Regions from separate parts of the Homo sapiens genome. Here regions 1, 2, 3 and 4 are each linked to region 5. Evidence: promoter capture Hi-C in human tissues and cell types (Jung and others, 2019). All regions are on one chromosome and are shown on one strand. The core of a region is centred on a gene start or on the middle of the fragment in contact, and the rest is flanking DNA. Distances in the headings are between cores, read along the strand shown.

Region 1 (4,188 bases), core at 1,182-3,681, 350 kb before region 5:
ATTAACTTTATATTATAGAATGGCCACATAATTTCTAATGAAAAATGGGTCACTACTGAAAATGAAAGAGGGCACCATCAATAATTACCCTGGTACAATAGGCATAAACTAGACATATCCCCGGAGAAATGGGGTATATGGTCTCTCCAACAGCCCCCATACTGAAGCCTATCCCTAGAGAAGAGATATGTTAAAAACCCACTTTCTCAGTCCTAGAAAAATCAATTAACTAACAAAGGGAAAAAATAACTAAAATGAGTTTAATAAAAATTTTTAAAGACTCCTAAACCATCATCCTAGGAAGGTAATAGAAAAGCTTAACTCCACTGCAAAATGAATATCTTGTAAGAGCTGAAAAGCTAAACAGATCTTATTGCACTATAATGACATGCAAGACGATCTCTGTTGATGTTTAATAGGATGTTGGGTAATTGCTGTTAAATAAAAGGAGAAACGGGGATTATTAAAAGGCAATATTACTATAAGATATCCCAAACAGAATGTGTAATTTCTTTGCTTTATGATTTATATACATAGTTCAAACAACAGGTACACCTACAAAATATCATGGCAAAGTTCAGTTGATCGTCATCTTCATTATTAGTACCATGAAAGCATGGATAAAACTTGAAGGGAGTAATAACAAATTGTAATAGATTAGATGAAATTGTAAAAGCATCATAAAATTGGCACATAGGTGTCCAAATATGATGCTATTTATAGTATATTATTTTTCACCTTAATGAGACACCTGAAAATTAGTTGCATCGTTACTATTAATCTAAAAATACTCATGCCTTTGAACATCCCTCTGCCTCAATCACTGGAAACACTTACTGATGCTCTTCTCTACCCAAATACGTCAGTTTCTCTCAGAGGCAGGGAAAGACAGAGATAGAGATGGAGGTGGAGAGAGGGAGCGAGCTCATGAACCTCTTTTTAAAATGAAACCATTTTTAGTTTCAGTCATTCCCAGGATAAGATGAGAAAGAATTCTGATTTAATTAACTTGCATTCACAATCCCCTGAAATCATTTGAACTAATGGGGGTTTTAATGAGAAATATTTTTAAAGAATCTTGTCATTCTCTATTCTATAGAATACATCATACTAGAGTTTGCCTCCTCAGAAGCTTGCATTTTATTTGAAGTCCTGTTGCTCTCATTGACATTGAAACACACACTTGAACAGACTTTGCAAAACTTACAGAAGAGAAAACCTAACAGTACTCCACAGGTCCTCTTATTTAGCCCACACAATTATCTTTCCAGTTAGGCATTACTATCCCCATTTCATAATAAGAAAAGTGAGGCTTGGAGCACTTACAAAGGGTTTTAGGTCAGGTCTTCGGATTAGAATCTATTATTTTCTTCCTGAGTACAATGGAGATTGTTAAAGGACAGTCTACGTGATCAAGTATCTGATTCTTGAACATTAGACACTTGGACTATGGATTAATTGTCTTTACAGAATGCCACTAACTAGGAACCTAACCTCTGGTCATTCTAGGGTATCATGGTCTAAAATATTAGCTCTACCATCGAGCTTTGCAAAAATCAGAATAAATGGTTTCATGTATTTTTACATGTGACTTCGGACATTTGTATTTTCTGATATATACACTGAGCAATGGAGGAAAAAGTAGAATCAATGGATTGAATATTATTAGTTGCCTGAAATTGTAAACTTATATAGATATTATTAAAATAACATAGAGTCTTTTTAAACAACTTTTTAAATGAAACCAATATTTGATGGGATAAAACTGATGATTATAACAATGGTTGACAACTTGTTCAAATAAAAACAAAACTTGGTTAAAGAGGTGAAGTAAAATTAAACTTTAAAAGTATTTATGAAGCATAAATACATCTCTGGTATAGCACTTAACTACACTGCATTAATATTTATTTAAATATATACAAACACATACTCTCTACATTCCATACTTCGAAGAGTAAAGAACATGAATTTGCACATCTTTATAATGCCATCCTTTGCAAAAATGCACTAGAATCCTCACAGTCTTTTAAGGTATGTACTATTGCACAGATGAGAAAACTGGGGCCCGGGGAAGTTATGTAACTTGTCCAAGGTTATGTATCTACTAAGTCATGAAGTTCAGAATCAGAACCAGGCATCTGTACAGAGATTTTATGCTCCTAACCACTTCTCACAGTACCTCATGGAGTTAAGTGATCACTAAGTAGTCATTGACACTATTATCTCTAGTTTTCACTGTGTAAAAATTAACATTCTGAAAATAAATGTTTTAAGTACTTTACTAGTGCTTAAGTCCTATACTTTAAGTGCTTTCTCAGTAAGTTCAGAAGCAATGAAAGGAACTGCTATGTTGACCTTGATTCTTTCCCACAAAGGTAATTATTAGTAATGCGAACATCAAGGAATCTTGCGAGAAAAAATAATATCAAATTCTAACTGTACCGAGAATAGCGTAAGGCATGGGCAAAATCAGAATATGATCCTTAAACCTGCTATTGAGGTCTTTGCACCACATCCATGGGCCTAGTGGCCCCCAAACACAGAGATGATAGTCCTCCTTCACCCTGCATTCCTCAAACCTTCCAAGGAGCAGTGTATTGAGTTCTAGGTATCAGGATCATAGAAGAGGCAAAGGCACAGTGGAGAGCACAGTGGAGTGGAGTTTCATTCAAATGAGAATCATAGGGGTCAAAACTTCTGCTTTTCTAGATTTTTTTAAAAGAGGGTACCATAAATTATGTAACCAAACTAAACACCTCAATTATACATGAACATATATTGATATAGTGTTTTCATTATGAAAATCAATAACAATGTTGAAGTTGGAGTTCATGAGAGGATCATTTTATTGCCTGCACAGTTTCTGACATATGGTAAGTGTACAACATTGTTCTAGAAAGAAATAGAAAATTGAGAAAGAAACTGGACAACATTTCATCAGGAAGCTAAGAAACTACACAATTCTGTTTTCTCCTTTCCCTTCCCCAAATTAAGCTGATTCCCTGAAAGTCAACAACTTGTCAGCTATGCCCTCTAGTCTTGACCACTGTAGATAAAAACTAAAAAATCTAGCATTAGGCATAAAATATATTACTACATATTCAGTAATTGTAAGATTCTTTTAACATCCTGTGGATTGCAGTGGGTTGTAGACACAAGATGTGTAAACAGGAGTGAGAACCTGAACTACCTTACATGTCTGGATAGTCAGGGTCTAAATAAGCCAAAGTGACATTCTGCAACTGCCAAATTAATGAGAATTAATTTTGTCATAAAATAGGTGTTATATTTAATAAGTAAAATATCTAGGAAAAAGAGGAAATGGAAACATTTAGTCTAATACTTATTTTTAGTAATTCAGACTTACAAAGACATTTTACTACTAACATGACCTTACATTTGTCTGGTATGTCACTGTTTAGAAATTGTTTTGGTATGTATTACCTAAATGATCTGATTGGGTGCAGAAATACCAAAATATGAAGAAAATATTAATGTAGATATTATTGCGAACTCAATAGCTTTCAAACTGACCTATAAAATGCTAAGGTAAAAATATATGTGAACATTTAAAAAACTGAACCAGATACACCATTAATGAATGTAATATATATAAAAAATCTGTTTCTACAGCAAACAGCAAAATCACATGTACTGATTATTCAGTTTGGAATGATTAGGAATGCATTCTCTCAAGTCAGAATCCTTCGTTCAAATCCCTCTTTTGCTGCTTGTTAGTCATGTGACTTTGAGGAGTGGCTTAGCCTTTTTGAAACTCAATTTTCTCAGTTTTGTAAAATAAGGATAGTAATTATACCAAAGGATTGATTTGAGAATTAAATGAAAGAATGTGTGCATAGCACATAGTGTAGCATATGGCATATAGTGGAAATATTAGGCCCCAGCAAATATTAGCCATTAACTCAAAGCCTTTTGTTCCTCCTCTTGGTTCAGCAACCAGTTACAGAGCAACCTCACTGATCAATAACAAGATGTGTTATCTTCAGTTCGTGGAAATACTCGGTAAACACCGAAATATATTGATACTGCTTTTAAATCATGTCGTAAGGGTTAAGCAGGAAAAAAAGCCAGAATATGCAAATGTTTTAGGTCAGTTTTATCTATTTCTTTGCCATCTTACAAATAAGCAATTCTCAATCACAAACTTACTAGTTTTGCTGTGTA
Region 2 (4,508 bases), core at 307-2,806, 460 kb before region 5:
GAGAAGCATGATTTAAACCAAAGGACAATTTTCAGAAAAAGGACACACGAGACAATACAAATATTGTATTTTTCTGTTTGCATCACCAAGGTTAGTGTGAAATCAAGCAGAAACAAAACCACATCGTCTAAGAACTTCTAAGAAATGCTTTTGCTATAATTTCCCTCAAAGCACAACAGATTTCTTAACTTGTTTTACAACATAGAAAGTATATTTTAAATATAATATCTTAAATCTGCACTCACCATGAAAAAGCAACAGTTGCGTAGAGTAAAAGTGTGCTATTTTCTGCCCCTGTTCCATTTCAGTTTTGCCTATGGTTGTCCAACACCCAAAAGCCCAGAGCTGCCACCCAGAGGCCCCTTCCACAAGCTGGCTTATTTGCCTGTCAATCTGAGTGCCGGCTTCTCTATTATGCAGCTGTGCACTTTGCTGAAGTTCTAATATAATTTCCATACGCTTGCCACCGCCTGAAGTAGGCGATTTGTTCTTTCAGTTCAATGAATACTCAAATCACTTTTCAGGTAACTGTAGGATCAAGCTTTAAGTTGTTCACCCTCAAGTTAAGGAGTTCTTGGTAAGAAGTGGGTGGAGAGAAGTAAGCTCACTACAAGGGAATTCAGAGTGTAATCAGAACGCAGAGAGAAACTTCCTCTTTTTTCCTTCCTTGCTAGCCTGAGCTACTAGTGCCTCTTTCACAGAACTTAGGAATGTAAAGGGAGGACGCAAAGAGGCCCCGCCAGACAACCCTTTCTCAATCAATTAGCTTGCAGCCATTACTTGTGACCTTAGGTCACACAGCATAAGTGTGTGGGGCGTGCCTTCAGGGGTCCCAAGGCTACTTATTACAGCTTAGATAACCAAAACCAAGCAGACACTAAAATCTAGAAATACTTTAATAGAAAATGTACTGAAGATGTGACTAAAGGTAAACTCCGAGTTTTTTTTTTTTTTTTTGCAGTAACTTTTTGCAGTAACTACTATCTAATCCAGTCAAATATATTTTTTTTTTTTTTACATTAAGAAATCTAAAACAATGTTTTCCATGTTGGATCAAACAGGATTTAGAATGAAGCAGTGAAACTTTTTTTTATATTAAATTTCAAGCTGGGAATAGAGAAATGACAAATAATATATCATATAGATCACAGGATCATATATGTGTTACTCATATAGCTCAGGTTCCAAGGTCTCATTTGAGTTTTGTAAAGAATGCTGGTTTATTACACCTAACTGCAGAGTAGAACTACTGTAAACAAAGTTCTCTATGCTTAAGGAAGTCAAAATAATATCACTTTAGGGGCTAGGAACAACTATTTTAAACTCTAAAGATTACATACTATCTTAGTATCATGATTTCTCTCATTCTCATAGTTGTTTTAATGAGAATTTCCTTTTGAGCTCTATGTCAGACAAATGTTTTTTCTCTTTAACATTTTTTTAAAATGAGAACTCAAACTAACGGAAAATAGGAGAAACACTAAAGGAAAAGGTAATATTTTAAAACTACAGATTTGTGTAAATTTCATACTGTAAGTTTTCATATTCCTTGAAAACACTAAAAAATAGTAGCCGCCACCATCAATAAATCAATGATACAGAAACATCAGGCAATTTTATTTCAAATTAAATCCATGCTTTTGAATAATACAACCCAATTAAGAAGCACAGGCTTTGATACTGATTGGATTAGCCAATCTCTTCCCTCCAAAAAGGCTGTTACTCAGAAATGGATTTGCCACACCCACGTTTTCTCAACCTTGTTACTTGATGATGCCACAAGGCATGTCTGACTCAGCACAGTGCAGGAATGGCAATATTCCTCATGGATACCTGGCCAACTAAATTGTCTGCAAAGTGGACAGTGACATAAATAAAACAGACAAACCAAAAAAAAAAAATCAAGAATAAATAAGACAGGTGTAAAAAAACAGCGGCCAAATAATACTGTCTGATGGATAGAGTCAATTTTAAAAACTGCAGTAACAAATAATGTGGTAATAGGAGTGTTAAAATCAGTTATGGGTGGGGGTTAGGGCAGAAATTAAGAGTTTCTACTTTCTCCAATATACAATAGAGAGTCACTGATAGGTTTGAAAAAACAGATTGACATTGCCTCTCAATAAATTTTAAATAATAATAATTTGATGTCTTTTAGTGATTCTGTTATGGACGTTTTATATATTGAAAACAGGCATTATTGAAAACCATTTTTGGCTCTTTAGCCAATAGATATGTAGAAAATCAAAAATTCTAATTACTGTTTGAGGAATACCTAGTTTTTAGAAATTTCTACAACTCAGCACCACCCTATCATTGCATGTTTCATCTTACTCTGTTATAAAAAGAGCAAGCTTTTTTTTTTCTTGTTTCTTTCATTTGAGACTAACAAATAACTTCTAAAAGTCAACAAGGCCAGCAGGTCTTATGCATTAGAAGTCTGCAATTAAACACCTGAAGATCTGGCCTCTATTCTGACAGAGCTACATGCACAAAACAAAGGACTTTCTGATAAAAGTGCAAAAAAGGTCACTAATAACCTACATAAAACATAAAACATACATCAGCACTTGAAAGGGCCTTGGTGAGTTCACAGTCCATAATGTATTTTTTTTTAATGGCCAGTTGACTAAAACAACCACAGACATTCTGAATTACATACGGGTTACAGAAAAAAATCCCATTTTAAAAGTGACTGAAAAGATCACTACCAGGATGCTATTGAAAAAAGTTGGTCGGTTTCCACCATCATTTCACGGGGATATTGTCCACTGCTCTAGATGCCGTGGTGATTTTATCAAACATTGCAGAACATTTTTCACTAAGTTCATCTAACTTGAAAAACATCTCAATAGCTTAGATAATTCTACCACTAAAACCCTATGATGTGTATTTAGAGATGCTAAGTTAGAATAAATATGAAAATAATTAAAATTATATTTTAATTAAATAAAAGGCCATTCAAAATGGTATGACATAATAATAATATATGAAGTTACAAAGACATAATTTCAAAACATCACATAATAAAAGAAAATACTTGCTACTTATTATGTCATGTTGATATTTTCTACTCTAATCCTATTATGCATCTATGCATTTGTCCAATCATTTGGAATGTCTTGGAAGATAGTCATTTTGGGATGAAGGAAGAGTTGAACTAAAATCAAAGACCTGAAAAATATTGCCATAAAAATTTTAGTTTTCCATGACATCTGGATAGCAGTCCACCATCACAAGGTGGTCTCAGCTAACTTTTTGTTAAAATACTTAAACTGAAAAGTACATCTCTCAACAATTCTAAAAACTAAGATTAATAGCGGTAATATCTTTACCATTCTTCTAAAGCTAATGATGTTGGGCTAAGAAAAACAGGTGGTCTGCATTGTAGAAAGATTAGTCCTATCCATCTGAAAATTAAGAAGGTATTTTTAACAATTCTTGATTAACTGCAGTCATATTTATGGCCTGTTCCACCAAAACTTGGACTGCCATAATTACATCAGGTATCAATAGAAGGTGCTGGTTCTTAGGGTACATAGTGCGGTGTCCTTATATCACTATCTCTTCCTATTTTGGCATTAGTACCCAAAAACAGAAAGTTGCAGCGAGGTGGAGTTGGGGGAGGACGGGGCAGGGAGGGCTGGCATGTAACACATTACATCCCCCCAAAATTAGTTAAAATGAGTTATACAGTAGGAGAGAGAGGAAGATGGTGAAGAAATGAACTTACTGTACTAGGAATAGTAGCTTTTCATCCTTGTGATATAACAAGGTTTGGGACATAAGAGACCTACTTACTATTGAGAGCAAAGTCAGATTGCATAGATGTGTCCTGGTCTCTAGCTGCTGGGAGGTCCACACACCAACGTGTCACCCAGCTGGAGCAACATGAAGTGGATTTAATCAGCATGAATGGGATTTAACCAGCAAGAAGTGAATAGTAAGAAAACAACAGGAGTTATCTGGTTGTAAACATGACATTGGATAGATCTAAGCTAATCCAGAGTGTTGAGCCAATAAAAAAACAAATATAAAGGTGGAGCCTATACACAAATACTACAGAGAAAATGGGATAAGAACATTTTTAAAAGGAGAGCAATAAGTAAATATACTACTATTAAAACAGGTGAAAACAGGGATTTTAAATAAAATTCACAAAGCCATGTTCCCTATCATACAGGACAAGAAGGAGGAAATGGCTTAAAATAAAAGGAAGAAAATGAAACGGAGGTATACACTTAAAAATAAAAAAAAGAAAAGAAAGAAACCATAATGGATTTAAAAAAAAATGAAGTAAGGATGATAAATGACACTGGAAAATTACAACAGTGAAATCAATGACAAACTTTAAAAAATAAGAGATGTGTTTGAAATCTGTAGCAACAATATAGGTAAGCTTGCTGGAAGAAATCTTCTAATATTTGATTTCACATGTTTTTAAATCTAAAATGTCACAAAACATAAGGAAAACTTAAAAGTATATTCTGTGTTCTACCCAAAAAGAC
Region 3 (4,395 bases), core at 1,888-4,387, 390 kb before region 5:
GGAAGCTCAAGAGAGGCAAAGGGAAAGGGAGCACAAGAAAAGGGATGAAGGTGAGAATTAAAAAAAAAAAAACTGCCCATCAGGACTATGTTCCTTACCTGGGTGAGGAAGTAATCTGTCCACCAAACCCCAGAGACACAGAATCTACCCATGTGACTAATCTGCACAGGCACTCCCTGAATCTAAAATAAAAGTTCAAAAGGAAAAAAAGAAAAGAAAAGAAAGGGGGATGGAAATGTGGATAAATGTAATTAAACACTGACCTTGTAAAACAATAATAAAGGTGTTTTATGTAATTTACAAAAAAAAATATGAAATTAGTCTCAGGTTCTTGCTTTCAAGATGACAAAGAAAAGAAGGAACCATGTCATGCCAAAAAGAGGCACAGCCACATGCAGCCTATTTGCTGCAGACACTGTGCCCAATGTATGCCCAAGGACAAGGCTACTAAGAAGTTCGTCATTCAAAACAGAAGAGGCTGCAGCTATCAGACATTTCCAAAGGGAGTGTCTTCGACTCCTGCGTGCTTCCCAAGGTATATGTGAAGCTACGTTAATGCCTGAGTTGTGCCATTCACAGCATGTTAGTTGAGAATGGATCTCATGAAGTACTGAATGCACCCACCATGATTTAGACCTCCTGGTGCTGCCCCATGACCTCCAACAAAACCCTTGTAAGGAGCTGAATCCTTAAGGATTAAAGAAAAACAATCCTCTGGAAAAAAATAAAATGGAAATTATGCTTTATATATAATTTACATATATATGTATATTTATAATTTATATACATATATAATATACATATGTATGAAATTAAATATTTCCATTTCATACCATATAGATGAATTCCAGACTGATTATATATGTAAATTTAAAAGGAAGAACAGTAAATGTTCTAAAAGATATAGAAGAGAATCAATAGGACCTCAGAGTAAGAAAAGACCTCAGCCGGGCGAGGTGGCTCACGCCTGTAATCCCAGCATTTTGGGAGGCCGAGGCAGGTGGATCACTTGAGGTCAGGAGTTCAAGATCAGCCTGGCCAGATGGTGAAAACTCGCCTCTACAAAAAATACAAAAATTAGCCAGGAGTGGTAGCGGGCGCCTGTAATCCCAGCTACTTTGGAGGCTGAGGCAGGAGAATCACCTGAACCTGGGAGGCAGAGGGTTGCAGTGAGCCAGGATCAGGCCACTGCACTCCAGCCTGGGGGCGACAGAGTGAGACTCGTCTAAAAAAAAAAAAGAAAGAAAGAAAGAAAAAACTTCTTAAACATTACCAGAAAAACCATTAATTTAAAAATTGAGCAACTTCATCACATTAAAATTAAGTAACATTTTCCAGAAGGCATCCTTAACAAAGTGAAAAGTCAAGCCTGCTGTGAGGGAGAAGATATTTGTAACTCGAATAACTAACAAGGGCTTATATCAGGAATATATAATGAGCATCTATAAATCAATACGAGAAGGTCAGGCAACCTGATTTTGTAAAAAGGGAGAGGGGACTTGAACAGGCATTTTACAAACTGGATATCCAAATAGCCAATAAGCACACTAAAAGAAAGATACTCAACCTCACTCATAATGGGGAAAATTCTAGTTAAAAAAAGCAATGAGTTACTACATTCACCAATACATTTGGCTTATGTTGAAAAATCAATCAATAAAATTTGCCACGTAAACATTTTAAAGGGAAGAGCTATTACTGAAATTCGACATCCATTTATGATTTTTTAAAAACTCAACAAACTAGAAACAAATGGGCACATTCTTCCATATAACAAAGGGTAGCTACAAAAGGAATTTTCTGCAATTACTTAATGCTAAATCTGCAATGGTAAGACATTAAGCACAAGACAAAGATATTCATGCCACCATTTTTATTCAACATGTCAGTATTGATAGCTGTCAATATTTGCAGATGATGTAGCTTTTTGAAATAGAAAATAGAAATAATCTACAAATTGATGGAATTAATAAGAGTTTAGCAAGGCCATTTTTTATAAAACCAGTATACCATAATCAATTTTATTTTTAAACATCAGTAACAAAATATAAGGTACAACTTATCATAGTGTACAAAAATTAGGCAACAAGGAAAAAATCAAAGAAAAGATATGCACCAATTCTAAAAGTTTATGGAGAGAAATTAATGATGCAAGTGGAGATATATATCATGTTCATGAATGGCAATATAGATATGTCAGTCCTTCACAAATTGATCTACAGACTCAGTGCAATACCAACCAACATCACAACAGAATTTTTGACTATACAGCTGATTCTAAAATGGAAATGAAATTGAAAGAGCCATGAATAGCTAAGTACGCTTGCATGCAAATAAAAATGGGAGGGCTAGCTCAACTGATATCAAAGCTTACAATAAAATAGATTAATATTAAGATACCGCAGTATTAGCAAAGGGAACAGTACAAAGACCAAGAGAAAGCAATAAAGATCTTGTGGAAAAAACTGATACATACATCGACCTTTTATTTAGGTGCCTGCATAATAATAAGGAAATAACTGCCTTCTCAGGGTACACTGCTGGCACAATTTTTAGAGCTTACACTAATATTTGGGGAATCTTTTTGTGTCTTAATGAAAATGGTCTTTATAGACTCTCCTTAGCAAATGCCTATATTTCAATTATGCTCATTCTCCTAAAACAGCTCTTTTGCTGTGCTATTAAAATCAGGTAAATTCTCTAAGTTATAATAGTACTGTCAACAAAAACCAGATATGTAATTTTGAAAGGGTAGAAAGTTTAAAAAGTCATGATGAACACATCTGGTGTAGATTATTGCTATAAAAGTATTTATTGCTATAAAGATATTTTATAGGTACAGCCTAAAAAATGTTCAATAAATAAAAAACTATTTCAAATGATTTTATTTTTTACCCACTACCTAGATTCTTACCAAAGTAAGAGCAGCATTAAAAAGTAGATGCTGTACCCCTCTTTCCAATATGTAATTGGAAAGCAGACTGAAATAATGCCTCAAGGTTAATCTTCCAAAAACCTATTTTAATGCTTTCTTTATAAAACTTTGTAATATGTTTCTTTCAAATTACTATTAATATCATTAGTGCTTATTAAAAATGTAATATATTGAGTGTTAAAGTGAATATATAGGTATTAAAAACAGATAAATTTTCCAAAATTGTATTTTCATCATATTGACATTAATTTCCACATTTGGTGACTCAGAAACTAGTATTGTAGTTTTGAATGGAATATATGTAGTATATAATATAAATACATTTTTGTTTCAATTTAGCCTTTTCCACTAAATTTTATCATATTAAAATGTTAAGAACTTGGTAAATTTTTTAAACTTATGAAAGAAACAAACATTTTGTCTTTCACATTCAAGCAGAATGTGGACTTTTACTTTACAATATGAACATTTCCATATTTTTAATTCTTTAGATACGATCCACTTTTTTCTAAAAACAAAATACCCAGTGAACTTAATTATCAGTTATTAAATAATTTTAATTATTTATACACTTAACTATTAAGTATATAAAACCACATGAGGTAATAAATCTACTGAAAACTCTTGAAAATTTCTAAGTCGCATTGAAAATTGCTAAGTCGGATATTTTTAAGGAGTTGTTGATGTTAGAAGTGGTCACTGCAAATATATGCCCTACTTTTAGGAAAGAAATACTGTTAGAGCTCTCTTCACGTTACAGAATTAGCACAGAAATCTGCTTCCAATTAAAGAAACTGTGGGAGAACCCAGCTGTATTTAAAATTTGGCAAACGTATTAAACTGTGCTCCAAATGCTTTGGTTTCAGCAAAGCCTATACGGTATTTTTTCATGTCTTTTCCTCCTTAACTTTAAAACACATGTCCAGAGAATGGATCTGTCAGCGTCTCCTTCCAGTTACAATGATTAGAAAAAATTTCAATATTCAATGCCTGCGGTATTTTCTCCCTCTAACACACACAAAGGGTGGAAAAGAATATTCATGAGGTCACCTGTGTAAACCAAAGGATTTATATCTTGGTTGTCAGAGTGTTTACAAAATGATTCACTTTTACATAGAACCAAGAAGCTAAGTTTTGCCAACAGCTGATGGTACTCAAGCTATGAGTGGTTTGGATTTAATCTGAAATATAAAAGCCAAGAAGATTGGCTTTTATATGAAACAAGAAGATTGTTTCAAGATAGTTTTAAAGTCCCCACAACTACTTTTTATGACCCATGCAATAACATTTTGAAAACTATGGTTCTACATCAATTTGGTTATGGAGAAAATGTTTTCTAGGGATACTAATTCAAATATACAAATTAGAAGGACTTTTGAAATTAGAATGAGTAGAATGAAAATAGTATGGAAAAACCACTAAAAGTAATCTAGAGGATGTAAAAAAAATCGTAGAGATCT
Region 4 (4,042 bases), core at 1,434-3,933, 490 kb before region 5:
TTCATGCTTCTTTTATCCTCTCAAATGTTCCATGTCTAAAACATATCTCCATCCCTGCCTGTGAAAAAGAATCCTATTTCTGTCTATCCAGATTCTGTTGGAGCTTCCCCATATAAATGAACCCTTTCTTGATGGCACTGGTAGAAGAGGTTCTTCTTGATGACTTTACTCCTGTTGATACACAGTTCTTATAAAGCAACTCAAATATTTTATAGAACCCATTGATTTTATGCCTCTAATGTCACTATACTGGTCTTGCCTTGTTATCTCCACTAACATGATTGGTAGTTCAATACATTACTGATGACATTCTAGAATAAATACAGAATAATGAATTAATTAATAAATAAATGATGTATCCCAAAACCCTACCAAAAAACACTAACACATCAAAACATTTTCAAAAAATTCTCCATGACTTTCTAATCCCATTTTAAAGCACAGCACACTGAAAATAACATACCTACATGATACGCACAGTCTAGTATGAAAAGAACAAAGTGTCAACATAGGACAAATCTATTAGGTCAACTATTGACAGACATAAGCCATTTCATGGACTTTGGCTAGAGCTAAACTTGAGAAAACTATTTCACGTTAAACTTTGAACTTTAGAATTTAGGAAGAGGGCAAACGACCAAAATAAGCTGCATAATCAGCTTAAATTCAATCAGCACTATTTCTAGATATAGCTTAAAGATCTGTGAGCTGTCTTGCATCTTATTACCAAAATTAACCATAGACAAAGCATGTGAATTGCTTATGATCTTCAGCAAATAGTGATTTTCAAAAACACGTGTAATCTTATTCATGTGGTTGAATCAGAACTACATTTACCCAGCAGTACAGATGGATATGATTTGCTCTGGAAACTGAGACTGTTTTATTACTTTACAGTTTTTACCTATAAAAATAAATTTACATGATAGTGCATATGGTGAGTCTCAGACCTTAAAATATGCCTAGAAATAGCTGAATAAAAATGCCATCACACTGCAGCTATGAAATTCAGGTTGGATGCTTTCACACTGTTTACTTTGATACCACTATAGTAATACCTTTGTGTCTCTATTTTAATTTTATTTTAAAAATACATAGCAGTAGGCTGGGCACGGTGGCTCACATCTGTAATCCCAGCACTTTGGGAGGCCAAGGCGGGTGGATCATGAGGTCTGGAGATCGAGACCACCCTGGCTAACACAGTGAAACCCCATCTCTACTAAAAATACAAAAAAAAATTAGCCAGGCGTGGTGGCGGGCGCCTGTAGTCCCGGCTACTCGGGAGGCTGAGGCAGGAGAATGGCATGAACCTGAGAGGAGGAGCTTGCAGTGAGCCGAGATTGCGCCACTGCACTCCAGTCTGGGCGACAGAGTGAGACTCCGTCTCCAAAAAAAAAAAAAAAAAAAAAAAAAAAAAAAAAAAAAAAAAAAAAAAAAAAATTTATCTATATATATCTATATATATATATAGATATATATATGTTATATATATATATACACACATAGCAGTATATAAACTCATCTTTCCTGTAAAAAATCTGAACAATACAAATGTATTTGAAGTAAATTTTCCTTCCCCACCTTTTCTTAATTTTATTTTCCTCCCCAGAGGTTAAGTGTTTAGTGTATATCATTCAAGTTATATGATACATTCACATAATAGATCTTTTTTAATATACATGTCATTTATAAAATGTATTGTTCTAAGTCTTGCATTTTCTCTTAATAGTAAGACTTAGAGACTTTGTTGCTAGAAGTATAAACTGTCAAGAACAATTTTGAAATTCAACTTTTAACTAGGAATTCCACTTCTGCAAAAAATGGCATATACAGTGGTGATTATTATAGGGATGTTCAAAACAATGAAGCAGAGGAAATGAAATAACCATCCAACAATAGAGGAATGTTTCAATATATGGTATGATGATAAGTCCATGCTATGAATTATCATGCTGCTGGTTTAAAAGTATGAGGCAGATCTAAATATAGTGAATTTATGTACCTATAAGTTATTTCACAATGTTTCTCTGGAATTATTAATTCAGCCTTATTTCCAAGCAATATTCCTTACCATTTGACTCTCACACTCTTGTCAACCACCATCTTAGAGATATATTTTTCATAGAGACATAGGAAGGGATTAGTGGAAGATGGAAGATGGAGGATCCTGAAAGCTTGGTAAGCGGCAGGGTCCTATTTTGCCTTATATTAAATAACACAGAAGGAAAGAAAGACCTAGTAATAGAAAGACCTAGTAATAGGAATACCTGGGCCATGTTAATCACATGCATAGCTAAGCTAGTTTTTATTTGCAGAAAGTAACAGCAAGGAACTGATTGAAAACTAAACTATACATAGTACTTAAGATTGCTGCACATAGCTGCAAAACAGGCCCAGGTGCCAAGTTATTAAAAAAAGATTAATGAAATGAAAGCAGAAATACTAGGTGTGAAATATGAGAATAAAAGGGAAAGAAATTATAAATATTCAAAAAAGAGCTTAAGAAAAAAATGAGAAATACTTTTAGACATGTGATATAAATAGTTTTAAAATATTCATCTTCTCTCAGAGTAATAAAGAGAGGGCTAAATATTACGCTTAAAAAGATCAAAGGAAGAGGAAAGTTATTCTATAACTAAAGATAAATTCACAATTTTATAAATAAAAGTTTCAAATGTGGAACTTTTTTCAAAAATGTCACTTAATCTACTTCATATTCTCTCCTTTGAGACGAGAGAAAACTTACTCTGACACATTTTTTGTGAATTATTTTTCAAGGTCAGATTAAATAAACATATTCTAAGAAGATTGTTCACATAAATTATCTCATTTAATTCTCTCAGCAGCCCACTGGGGTAGAAATTCATAGCTGCATTTTACTACTGGATAAACGGAGGCTCAGAAAGTATAAGAAACTCAGCCAGCCGGAACACTTCAGAGCTGGAATTTGAATTCCCATTTGTTCACTACAGCTTTAACACTCTTTCTATCTCATCACAGTTGCTTTAAAATCATTATGTAAGAATGCCACCAGAATGGAAATGAGTACATTGCATTCAGTTTTAGTTAGCTTTTTCTGATTAACAGATACATTCACATTACATATTTTAGGGTAGTGTTTATAAAATGCATAATGACTATCACTTAATAAACCTGATTATACAGAGAGTTGTCAGACATATCACCCTCTTTTTATGTGGTAGGGTGGATTACAAGGCTCCGAAATGAGTTCTTTACTGTTTTTTTGTTGTTTTGGGTGCTCTGTTTAAAGACAAATTTTTTGTAATTAAATAGCAATCAGACATTTAAAAGACAAGCTGATCTCAGTACTGTATTTATGTAAGGCAGACAAAGATTGCATTTTCTATTTTGTGGTCTGGACACCTGGGGCACAAACTTCAGTAAGAGGGTCAACATCACTGAAATAATCCCTCATGTATCTGTCATATAAACAAGGCTTTAAATTCTGAAAACTCCATATAACAAAAAGAGATAAGTATTTTTCACATTACTATTATGAAGTGCCAATGTTTCTGTTCTTAGTTGATTTGTTCTTGTAGCCACTTGTATAACTTTTTAAAAATCATTTTCCACTTAATAAAATGCTTTGCACTGGCAAAACATAATTATGTTATGCACGAGCCACAGAGATAATTATAGTTCCTCCAGACATTCTTAATCTGTATTAGTGGAAACAAGTTACAGGGTGATGAGAACCTCACATATCATTATCCAATCTCAACAGCTGCTTAGTTAATCTTGCCATAATCAAATCCAAGTTATCATCCTATCATTTCTAACCTGCCATGTTCTTCTGAATTTCTGCTGATTTAAAGACATATCTATGCACTGTTGTAAGTCCTCAGATCTATTTAAGACTGCACTATGATTAATGTGTCTCACTAAGCCAAATGTCCTTTTTCTAACATAATTTAAGACTGCACTGTGTCCATATTTAGAATTCAACCTAACAAATAAGTGCTTGCTGAACTTCTCCTACATCCTTCGTATTAAAGGAAAGAGGGAGCCTTATGAGTATTAG
Region 5 (4,252 bases), core at 29-2,528:
CATGGTGCAAGCCATGATAGTGCACTTAAGATTCTGAAAGCAAAATCTAAAATAGCAGAATGATCTCTATTCACTTTAAAGATATAAAGTTTCACAAACAGTTTTTTAATTGTTTTCTTTAGTGAGTGACCATTTGAATGTGTGACTGATGCAAGAGTAAAGGGTGAACGAAAGAACAAGGTCAAACTTAGGGGACAAAAGATTCCTGGAATAACATGGCCAGAAAGGTTTCCTCTCTTAGGGACAGTTTCTATATTGAAAAAAAAAAAAAAAAAAAAAAAAACAGAAAAGAAGAAGAAGAAAGGGAAACCTTAAAAGGAAAAGAAACCAAGCAAACCACCTACTTCTAGAGTCCACCTGGTCAACACGCCTGCCCCGCGAGGCAGGTAATTCGATTTTGGTGGAGACCGTTTTGCAAAATAGCAGGCCTGGTACACTACTACCTTTGAAAGACAAAATCGGTTCAGAAAGGATGACAACTAGCTATTCTTTCTCATTTAAGGGGAGAGAATAAAGTTTCATTAAGATGCCACACAGAGCACTGTAGGAATGTGAGGGTCGCTCTCAATACCTGGCACCGTCTGCTACGGGAAAACAATCGGCAGAAGGAAGTGGATTGAAGCCCGCAAACTACACTCTGCTTCCCACACGCAGCTGGGCTCTGGGCGCGACGCCCCCGAGGCGATGGGCAGGGGCCGGGGGTGACCGGGGAGGAAGCCCGGGAAGGCGGCGGCGGCGAGGCCGGGGCGCCCGGCCGCAGCGGGAGAGGACAGCCCGTCGGAAGGAGAAGTGGGGCCCGCCGGCTGGCGGACTCGCCTCACCTTCTGCGCCGCGCTCTGCTGCAGCACGTTCTGCTCCACGGTCATGGCCCCCGCGGCGGCGGCGGCGGCGGCGGCGGTGGCGCCCGGCTCCTCGCGCCTCCGCCGGCCCTGGCTGCCGCGCTCCGCCGAGCTCCAGGGAGCGGCGCGGACGGCCTGGGAGGACAGCGCCCCCGCCAGCCAGGCGCGAAGGCGATGGCGGCCGGCGTGCGCGGGCACCGCGGGCAGGCGGCGAAACGCCGACTGTGAGGGCCACGGCGGCCGCCTCACGTCTCCACGCGGCCCGCCTCAGCGCCGCTCGTCCGCGGCGGCCCGGGCCATGAGCGGGCGGAGGACGCCGGGGCACGGGAGAGCGCGAGCCAGTCGGGCGGCGTCACGCGTTCGCACGTTCCTTTGCTGCCGGTCCGCGGGCTGCTTTGGGGAAGGGAGAGAGGGGACGGAGGGAGCGGCCGCCCGGAATGGCGTTGTCCTCCTCCCTCCGCGAGTCCTCCTCCCTCCCCTCCCCCACGCGCCATCCCCGCCCCCGCCCGGCGGCTCCTCCCCCGCAGAGCCCCGCCCGCCGGCCGCCCTAACCCTACATTGTGACCCTCCGGGCGGCGGGGCGGGGCCGCCATGGAGCCCCGCCCCTCCCTGCGCGGGCCTGGCGTTCCCGGGTGGGGCGAGGGCGCGCCTGGCTGCCTGGCCCGGGAGCCGCCCCTGCGGCAGGTTGCGCGACGCTGGCGCTGGGCTTCGGGGAGCGCGACTGGAGGCCGGAGGGCAGCGTTCCTCCCTGCGCCCAGGGCTTGTCGGATCCCTAGCTTACCCAAAGCCTCCAAAGCAAACATTTCCCTCCATGCCCATAACGTCCCAAAACTGCGTAGGGTCCCGAACTCCGGCCCCTTTCTGTGTCACGCGTTCTCTCCCCTCGCCTTTCTAGGAATTTCACAAGCCTTGAACTTGCCTGAAGGGAAAAGTCAAATAAGCAAAGGGTTGCCAGAAATCTTTATGCTGGGAAGTACTTTTCTCCTTAACTAATCATTACGTAAATGAATATAGACATTTTCTATCTACCTTCATTCATTCGAATATGTGTCAGTCACTGCTAGGCTCTGGAAAAATAAAGTTTATCTTCCCAAGACTTAATATAAATGAAATAGGATCTATCTAGCAAACAACCTTACAAAAATATCACTGCCTAATGATACATAATTCTAATATCCCAGTTGCCAAATTAAGCAAACAATTAACTACCATGCATGGAATGCTTGACTATATATGGAATTGTAAGGAAAATCTAACATTAAGAAAGCAATCTCTAGCCACAAAAATATCTCGAGTTCCAGGAGCTAATCTGGGAACGGAGGTGAGAGTGCAGCAGTGTGAGGAGAGAAATTATCAATGCATATTGTCACAAATAGAATACACTTGAAAATCCGGGTATAATTTTTAATCCAATGACAAGGAAAGCAAGCTTGGCAAATGCTAATTGAAATAGTATGTGGTGTTATTTAATAATCATGGATTATAGTAGCTCTTAAGGCTTTGTAACAGTTCTGTGCACTTTACAACCATCTTTGTTCTGCAGCTCAGATGTCTGGTACCACCTGTTGTCACCTTTTCCTTGAAGCTTCATATTTGTTGACTCATTTGATATTTAACAAATTGCAAATCTTATTATATTAATATCCTATGTCTTTTCTAGAGGAAATGAAAAGTCATGAAACGGTTGGAAACAGAAATTTAGAAATACTGTCACATCTCTAATCTCACGTATCGATTTTTTTATAACTCTGAAGCCCAAGGAGGGTGACCTGTCAAAGAGAGCTTATCAAAACCCATTTTTCTTCATTTATAGATCAAAGTTTCTTCTTTTCTTGTTTATATGCTAACTTCATGTTTCTCCATATGAGGGTTTTGGTTTTTTGGTTTGTTTGTTTGTTTTTTAGAAATCAAGCTCATACATTTGAATTCAAGAAAATTAAATTTAACATAAAAATCTAGTAATCTAGTACCATGGGAGGAAAAATGTTGCCAGATACTAAGGTTTAATTTCAAGAATTTGGCAATACAACTTTTCTCTGAGTTAAATTTGTTACTTCCATACAGAAAAAAAAAGATGATCTTACAATAGATAATCATCAAATAGAGCTTTTATATGGTAGACCTATTTGCCCACTGAGACTGTTCATTTTCAGCTTACTTCTGAGGGTTTCCTACTTACTCAGCATTTCTTTAAATATTTTTAACTGTTGTACTGAAGAACATTGAGAAGAAAATTTCAAGTTTCCTCATAGGCATTCCTTTTTAGAAGGCTTACAATTGGGATGAATAATTAGAGAAATTTGAGCAATTGAGATAAATTGGCACACAAAACCCATCGCTGGGATTTCCTAACTCATTTTTTAAATTTGCGCCGTGACAATTGTGTTGTATGAGTCAGCTTTAATATGCATGTGTGTCGGAATTATATATCCTCAAGATATTATTTAATAACTTCTAAACTGCTACATTACTCTATGTTGTTGACATTCAGGTAAAAATGTTAAGTGACATATTTCATATAATATGAAATATTTTGTGTGTAACAATGCTGTGGTTTGAATGTATCCCCCCAAAAACGGTGTGATGGAAACTTAATCCCCAATGCAACAGTGTGGAGGTGGGCCCTAATAAGAGGTGATTCAGTTATGAGAGCTCTGACCTCATGAATTAATTAATGGTGCTATCACAAATGTGCAGTCCCTATCAAAAGGACAGTTTCCTTATAAAAGGACGAGTTTGGCTCCTTCTTGCCTCTTTCCCTTTTCCTTTCCTTCCCTCTCTCTCTTTCTCCCCTTCTCTTAGCTCTTCCACCATGCAATGATACAGGAGGAAGGCCTTCACCAAATGACGGCCCATCCATCTTGACCTTCCCTGCCTCCAGAACTGTGAGCCAACAAATTTCTGATCATTATCAATTACCCATTCATAGGTATTATGTTGTAGCAGCATAAAATAGACAAAGACAAACTGCAAGACTATTTTTCTGTTTTGGGTCAAAACGTTATTTCTAGCAATACTCAGTATTGTATTTTATATGTCAACTAAGAAAATTGGTATTCTTCCGCCTTAGGTATCTTTAGAAAGGGGTTAAAAATCCATTTCCGGATACCAAAAGTTTACCATATTGCCAAAACACATTTGTAGGACTTTTCTTTGTTTCCCCCCTAGCTGGTGTTGAGCTCCTGGTCTCAAGGGATCCTCCTGCCTCAGCCTCTGAAGTAGCTACCTGGATTACAGGCATGTCAGCAAAGAATTGTTGAATCCATGGAGCAGATTTAGACAATTTCCATTACAAAAGAGTGGTTTTAAATCTACTGCAATGAGGATCTGAATTATTTTCCTCCTTTAGGAGTGTTGGCATTCTGGGATAATTTTATTTCCACCAATAAGAAAACAATAAGCAGGCTGGGCAC

What was found. The method cuts DNA at HindIII sites, captures the fragments that hold promoters and counts their contacts. A contact is called where the count stands out against the background at its distance.
Region 1: a fragment that was not itself captured here is called in contact with the fragment with the promoter of USP25 in region 5 in 1 of the 25 tissues and cell types used here (dorsolateral prefrontal cortex).
Region 2: a contact is called between a fragment that was not itself captured here and the fragment with the promoter of USP25 in region 5, in 2 of the 25 tissues and cell types used here (dorsolateral prefrontal cortex and hippocampus).
Region 3: a fragment that was not itself captured here is called in contact with the fragment with the promoter of USP25 in region 5 in 2 of the 25 tissues and cell types used here (IMR-90 fibroblasts and dorsolateral prefrontal cortex).
Region 4: a contact is called between a fragment that was not itself captured here and the fragment with the promoter of USP25 in region 5, in 2 of the 25 tissues and cell types used here (dorsolateral prefrontal cortex and lymphoblastoid cells).

What each region holds. Positions count from the first base shown.
Region 1 is chr21:16,075,626-16,079,813 of GRCh38, reverse strand. All of the region lies in intron 2 of MIR99AHG (mir-99a-let-7c cluster host gene), which reads right to left. Among named protein-coding and RNA genes, the nearest start is that of MIR99AHG, 7.2 kb to the right of the region's middle. The HindIII fragment of the contact is 3,413 bases long and covers 725-4,137 here.
Region 2 is chr21:16,190,371-16,194,878 of GRCh38, reverse strand. The region is part of intron 3 of MIR99AHG (mir-99a-let-7c cluster host gene); the gene reads right to left. Among named protein-coding and RNA genes, the nearest start is that of SNORD74B, 92 kb to the left of the region's middle. RefSeq lists an enhancer at 283-1,043. The HindIII fragment of the contact is 3,642 bases long and covers 1-3,377 here.
Region 3 is chr21:16,117,592-16,121,986 of GRCh38, reverse strand. All of the region lies in intron 2 of MIR99AHG (mir-99a-let-7c cluster host gene), which reads right to left. It also overlaps the pseudogene RPS26P5. Among named protein-coding and RNA genes, the nearest start is that of MIR99AHG, 49 kb to the right of the region's middle. The HindIII fragment of the contact is 6,190 bases long and covers 43-4,395 here.
Region 4 is chr21:16,215,675-16,219,716 of GRCh38, reverse strand. All of the region lies in intron 3 of MIR99AHG (mir-99a-let-7c cluster host gene), which reads right to left. Among named protein-coding and RNA genes, the nearest start is that of SNORD74B, 67 kb to the left of the region's middle. The HindIII fragment of the contact is 5,714 bases long and covers 1-4,042 here.
Region 5 is chr21:15,727,008-15,731,259 of GRCh38, reverse strand. USP25 (ubiquitin specific peptidase 25) reads right to left here and starts at 1,278. Exons shown (of 26, transcript NM_001283041.3): 1 at 822-1,278. The coding sequence starts at 866. RefSeq lists a silencer at 714-1,673. The HindIII fragment of the contact is 10,815 bases long and covers 1-4,252 here.